Regions from separate parts of the Homo sapiens genome. Here region 2 is linked to region 1. The links are contacts of gene promoters, found by promoter capture Hi-C in blood cells and fetal thymus (Javierre and others, 2016). All regions are on one chromosome and are shown on one strand. The core of a region is centred on a gene start or on the middle of the fragment in contact, and the rest is flanking DNA. Distances in the headings are between cores, read along the strand shown.

Evidence for each region. Contacts are between HindIII fragments. The CHiCAGO score rates a contact against its expected background, and 5 or more counts as called.
Region 2: a contact is called between a fragment that was not itself captured here and the fragment with the promoter of POLR3E in region 1, in 1 of 17 cell types (erythroblasts). The highest score is 5.1, in erythroblasts.

What each region holds. Positions count from the first base shown.
Region 1 is chr16:22,295,962-22,299,033 of GRCh38, forward strand. POLR3E (RNA polymerase III subunit E) reads left to right here and starts at 1,448. Exons shown (of 21, transcript NM_018119.4): 1 at 1,448-1,576. It overlaps TRL-AAG2-4 (tRNA-Leu (anticodon AAG) 2-4), which reads left to right and starts at 1,179; the gene lies at 1,179-1,260. RefSeq lists silencers at 1,069-1,518, 2,529-2,668 and enhancers at 1,192-1,736, 2,179-2,318. The HindIII fragment of the contact is 19,375 bases long and covers 1-3,072 here.
Region 2 is chr16:21,300,193-21,303,129 of GRCh38, forward strand. It overlaps a transcript of CRYM not described here and the pseudogene ABCA15P. Among named protein-coding and RNA genes, the nearest start is that of CRYM, 23 kb to the left of the region's middle. RefSeq lists a silencer at 1,494-1,753 and an enhancer at 2,196-2,784. The HindIII fragment of the contact is 2,136 bases long and covers 546-2,681 here.

The DNA of each region.
Region 1 (3,072 bases), core at 198-2,697:
TAGGTATTTTAAAATACAGTCTGGTGAAAAATAACAGCCAATTGCAGATCTATATGAATAATGTGACAATATTTGTGTTCAAATCCATACACAATAAAAACAAAGCTATCTTCTATGGCTATATCTATATATATCCATATAGATATAAACATATAAATTCACAGCAAAAGATCTAGAAAGATATATAGTGTTTTAGTCCATTTTCTGTTGCTTATAACAGAATACCTGAAACTGGGTAATTTGTAAAGAAAAGGAAGTTATTTCTTACAGTTATGGAGTCTGAGAAGTCCAAGGTCAAGAGTGTGCATCTGGTGAGGGCCTTCTTGCTGGTGGGGGACACCTGCAGAGTTCCCAGGCAGTACAAGCCATCATATGGAGGGGGTGCTGAGCTGCTCCCTTGCTAGCTAAGGTCTCTCTCCCTCTTCTTATAAAGCCATCAGTCCCCCTCCCAAGATAACCCATTAATCCATTAACCCATTAATCCATGAATCCATGAAGAGATTAATCCATTCATAAGGGCTCCACCCTCATGATCTAATCACCTCTTAAAGGGCCCACCACACAATACTGCCACATTGGGGATTAAATTTCCAACACATGAAATTTGGGGGACACATTCAAACCATAGTTCATATTAAACAGATAATAATGGTTAGTTACCTCGGCGGAGGGGCCTAGGATGCGAGTCAAGGTCAAAGAGCATTTGTACCTTATCTGCAAAGTTTAAATATTTTGCAATAATTCGCGTGTTATTTGTGTAAGTAAAAATTTAAACATAATTTTTCAGAGACAACTGCCCAGACCAGCTCCAGGGTTTGGCCGTCAGATCCCCTGGTGCATGTTTCTGATCAGATCAATTTCTTCTCCCGGAGACACCCAATCCGGGTCGTATGGATTACCTGTGGGTTAACCAGGGGTCTCCGGGTTAACCATCCAACTCAGAGTAAAGTTTCTAAAAATGCGTTTTGCTCTAATACCTATTCGGAACCAACCTGGGTCTAAAGACTGGAGCAAGTGTTTATTTTCCAAAACACGGCTTTTTAAAATAATTCTATAGGGATCACCTTGAACACACGTTAAGCAAAAAAAAAACCTCAGCGAAAACGCCTCGCAATGTCCAGATTAAATGCAAAAGCAAAAGCATTAAGTAGCTTTCTGGCATAAACATATTGCAGCTGGGTAGCGTGGCCGAGCGGTCTAAGGCGCTGGATTAAGGCTCCAGTCTCTTCGGGGGCGTGGGTTCGAATCCCACCGCTGCCAGGGTTGCTGTCTTTTTGTCCCCGCTGCATACACTCCTGGCTCAGTTTTGCGCGTGCCATCAGCGCCCCCTGCTGCAGGGCGGGGCTCACGGCCTGCATGAATGGCGCGGCGGAGGGGGCGGAGCCGCGTGCACCGGGGCGGGGCATTGTGGGTAAGAGGAAACGCTGGGGCCGGCCCGCTCCCCCCCACGTGTCCGCCGGAGTTTCTCCACCAGCAACATGGCCGCCGCCTGAGAGGAGAGCCGGGCCGCCGCCGTCTCTGCAGCCCGCGGGTAACTGGGCCGTTGCCGCCGTCCGCGCTCGGCCCCCGCGGAGAGGTGAGTCCCGTCTTGGCAGTGCCCGAGCTGGGGCTTGAGCCGGACCGCACTCACGACGTGGGCCTGGGCTAGATTCCCGAGTAGGCCAAGGAGGCCCGCGCCGCGCTGTGCCTAGCAGCTGGAGGCCTCTCGGGACTCGGGCGGGGAGGAGGGGCAGCCGGCTCCAGGCCGACCCCGGACTCTGACTTCCTTGACCTGACACCTGGGAGTTGGGGAGGCCGCGGCCGACGCTGGCGGCGGTGACTCAGGGTCCAGCCGACCTGCCCTATCCGGGCCTGGGAGGCCTCCTACGGAAGAAACACCTGTCCGCGCGTCGGGTGTAGTGGCGGCTCGCGGCAGGGACTGCGTGGTGGGCGTGAGAAGGGGGGCCTGACCACCCGCGAGGGAGCAGAAACCCATTGGACAGCGAGGCTCGGGATCGGCGGCCCGCCCCGATGGGCAGGGAGGGCACCTGCGCCTGCCGGAGCCCCCACTTCGCAGCTGAACCGGATTAGCCTCTGCCCGGCGAGGCCAGGGATTCCTCATTCATTTATTCAGGCAACCATTCAGTGTTTACCGAGCCAACTCTGTGTTCCGGATACAGCCCTGACCATTCGGTCCGAGGAGGTGTCAGTAAACAAACAAGGTCGTTCCTTTGGGTTAGCTTTAGAATTCCTTGGGCTTGGAGGCGGAAAGAAGAGATCTTAGCGATCTCCACAGTTTCCTCATCTGTGAAATAGAGATAATAGAAATTCCTACCTCATAGGGTTGTGGTGACGGCTCAGTAGAAACCGGGTGACGCTCCTGCTTGCAGCGTTTGACTTGTGGCTTAGCGTCATTACCCGCTTACGTTGGCAGAAAACATGTTGTCAAGTAATAACAAACCTTCCCAGAGGTTACGTTTATTAGCGTCCTGTCCTTACTCCTTCCCCGCAGGGGTCTGGAGGTCGGTACTTAGTTTCCCTACTTTAGGGATGAAAATAGGGAGGAATACCAAACCCAGACAACTCAGGTGGGTCACAGATGCCAAGCAGCTGTGGTGGGATTTGAACCTGCACAGTTTTGTTCTCGGGTCCAAGCTCTTACCCACTTAACCATACTGCCGTTTATCAGAAAACCGTGCAGTATAGTGGTTAAGAATAAGAATAAGGATCTTTGACATAGCGAGACCCAAGTTTCTGTCCTCATTCCACCTTGGATGAGTTGCTTATATCTGAACCTCAGTCTCGTCATTTCCAAATTGAAGATGATAAATCTCTATTGATAGGGCTAATGAGAAGATTAAATATAAAGTATTCTTTGTACTATATTGAGTGTCAACTTCGTGCCAGGCACTGTTCTAGGTATTGAGAGAACCAGCACTGGATTTTTTTTTTAAAGTAATGCTCCCCATAACAGCTTTGATGAAGTAAAGTATGATTGTCTGCATTTCATAGTTGAGGAAACTGAAGCACTGAGAAGCCTTCATGGAGCTTACGTTCTATTGCAGAAGACAAACAACACCTGAGCAAATAGAC
Region 2 (2,937 bases), core at 364-2,863, 1.0 Mb before region 1:
CCTCTCACTTTCTCAATTCTCTGTTCTTCCGCCTTCTCACCTCACCCTTCTGTGCCTTTTGTCCTCCAACATACACTTGATAGGAGTGGGGGAGTGGAGGAGAGGCTCATCTGAGTTGGGGGCTGAAGGGGAGATTGCAATGGTAACTGTGTTTTTATTGCTGTTGTTAAAGGTGTTTGGCATTTTGGAGCAAGCTAAAGAGCAATTTGATTTAGAAGACTATTCTGTCAGATCACACTGGAACAAGTCTTCCTGACCTTTGCTAACCCAGAGAAATCATCCAGTGATGATGAAAACGAGGTGCCATGAGATTCCCTCTTAAAAAAAAAAAAAAAACAGAAAAAGAAAAAAAAAAGAAATGCCCTACACGTGAGTCCCAATAAACTCATCTACTCATCAAGCTGGACTGGTCTGAGTCATTCTTTGGTCTGTTGGCTCCTTTCCCAGTTTGGGGCGGAGGATGTTCTATACAGTCCTGGATTTTTCCCCAACCAGGAAGAGAACTCCTTGTCCTGCAGTGTTCCTCTTGCGCCCTCTCCTGACAAAGCTTAACTTCGGAGCTGGAGCAAGTCGTATCCGGCATTGCAGGGAAGAGTGAATTTGGCCTGTGATCCAATCAGAAGCTGCGATTCTAAACAGGAAGCCACACTGGATGCGAGAATTGGGGTGGGGCGCGCCAAGAGGAGCAAGCATTATAGAACGTGGGGAGCATGAGAAATACACGGAGGTGGAAACGCCGGAGTGGCTGGCGGGTAAAGGCAGCGGGCGCAGATGAAGCGGGCTGGGCGTCCCACGCGCAGAACCGTCCCGGACAGAAGCCGCAGGGCTGCGCTGGCTGGAAAAAGGAACGCGAGTACAGCGCGCGTGGCGCGGGGTCTGCTCCAGGACGGAATCTTTTGGGTGGCCCGCATGAGGGGTTTGCAGGACCCCGGGCCTTTGGGAAGTTATCTGCTAAACTCCAGTAGACCCTGAGGAGCAGCGGCTCATGAATCTTCTTAAACTTCTGTCATCAGCGGCTGGGCCAGCTGAAGGTGACCATGGCACACGAGGGAGAGAGAAGCCCGCGAGAGGCGGAGAAATGTGGGGTCGTCCAGGAGGGTCGACAAGGCAAAGAACCTGAAGACGACCCAAAAGGGTACCTAGGTGGGGCCCTTTCAGGGACTTGGGGCATAGGGTAGGGCGCATGGGACGAGGTGGGTGAGCGCAAGGGACGAGATGGGTGTGCGCATGGGACGAGGTGGGTGGGAGCATGAGACGAGGTGGGTGGGGCGGTGGGTGAGGTCTCCGCCCCCAGACGGGCTGGCGAGGAAGCAGGGAAGAAGTAACGTTGGGCTGGTGAGGCAACAGGTGGGGCGCACTGGAGCTGCGGGATAATAGGTGGAACAAACTGGGGACTACACTCGTGGGCGCACGTGCGGAAGAGGGACTGAGGAGGTTCTTGCGTGCTCCCCTCGAGCACCGCCGACAGCTTCACCCGCACCTCCTGCCTTCCGCACCGCTGACTCCTACCGCTCCGCGCACTGCGCGCCCCCAGCCCTAGTGCAGCCAGCTCCCGGCCGGGTCCGCGCGAGGGCCAGGCTGCCAACCTGCCCGCGGGCGGCTGGTGGTTGGGGAGGGCGTTGGGAGGAGGAGTCCCGCCGGGTGGACGCGCGCCCTTCAGCGGCGGAGGCGGAGGCGGCAGCGGCGAGGCCTGAGGGTGCGTGCTAGGGAGTCCTGGCGCGTCCTTCTTCTGCCGGCGTCCCCCTGCGCTTGCAGCTGCTCCCCGACGCCCGGGAGGCCCACCCGCTAGCCGCGATGGGCGCGCAGAGCCCAAAAGGGCGACCCCCAAACAAAACTCACGCATATAAATCCTCCAGAGACTTCCTCATCCCCCCGCCAACACACACACACCCACACACACATACACACAATCAAATCAAATAGAAGCACTGTTAGGAATTTTATATTGGCTATGCAAAGTGCTTGAACGCACTGACTTTGGAGGCAAATGCCTTGTCCCTAGTCCTGACTAGTCCAGAATTTATTTGCTGTGACCTATGGCAAATTGCTTGGTTTCTCTAAGCCTCCATTTCCTAAGGCTTATATCTGAAAATAACTATAAGAGGAAAGGATGCTATTGTATCCAACTCAGAGGGCAGTCCTGATACTTACATTGCGAGAACATGTTAAGTGTTCCATAAATGGCAGAAGGGGCTGTGGAAGTTCAGTGATTATAGGTAGTTTAATTTGTCTTAGTTTTCCTTTGTGAAAGCATAAATTACACCAGAGAAAGTCACATATGTAAGGAATACTTTATGCAAAGCTGTTGTCCTAGGGAAGAGAGACCAGAACTCAGTCTAAACTAACTCTGCTGAAACAAAGTGGGGCAGGGTTTTTAAGCTCTAGGATGAGAGTAGAAAGGTGCTGGAGGGCTGTCGGAAGCATACTGAGTTGTTTGCTGAGTTTACAAGTGTTTCCTCCGTGATTAGGCCAGCTGTGTTTGCTAATTGGCTCTCAGGGAAGTTAGGCTCCTACCCTCCCACAGAAACTGGGAGATAGGGGGACCGTCTTCCTTGATGATTGCATTTCAAAGGAATGGCTCCCAGGTCCTTGACAAAGATGATTCTGGTTTGTAAAACTAGTAAGAGGCTATTAAAAAGAGTTACAGATATCTCAAGACAGAGAAAGAATTTACAGTGAAAAGCTTTCTAAAGAAAATGCTCTGTATTAATCTGTTTTCACACTGCTGATAAAGACATACCCAAGACTGGGCAATTTACAAAAGAAAGAGGTTTATTGGACTTACAGTTCCACGTGGCTGAGGAGGCCTCACAATCACGGCAGAAGGTGAAAGGTATATCTCACATAGTGGCAGACAAGAAAGCTTGTGCAGGGAAACTCCCCATTTGAAAACCATCAGTTCTTATGAGACTTACTCACTATCATGAGAAGAGCACG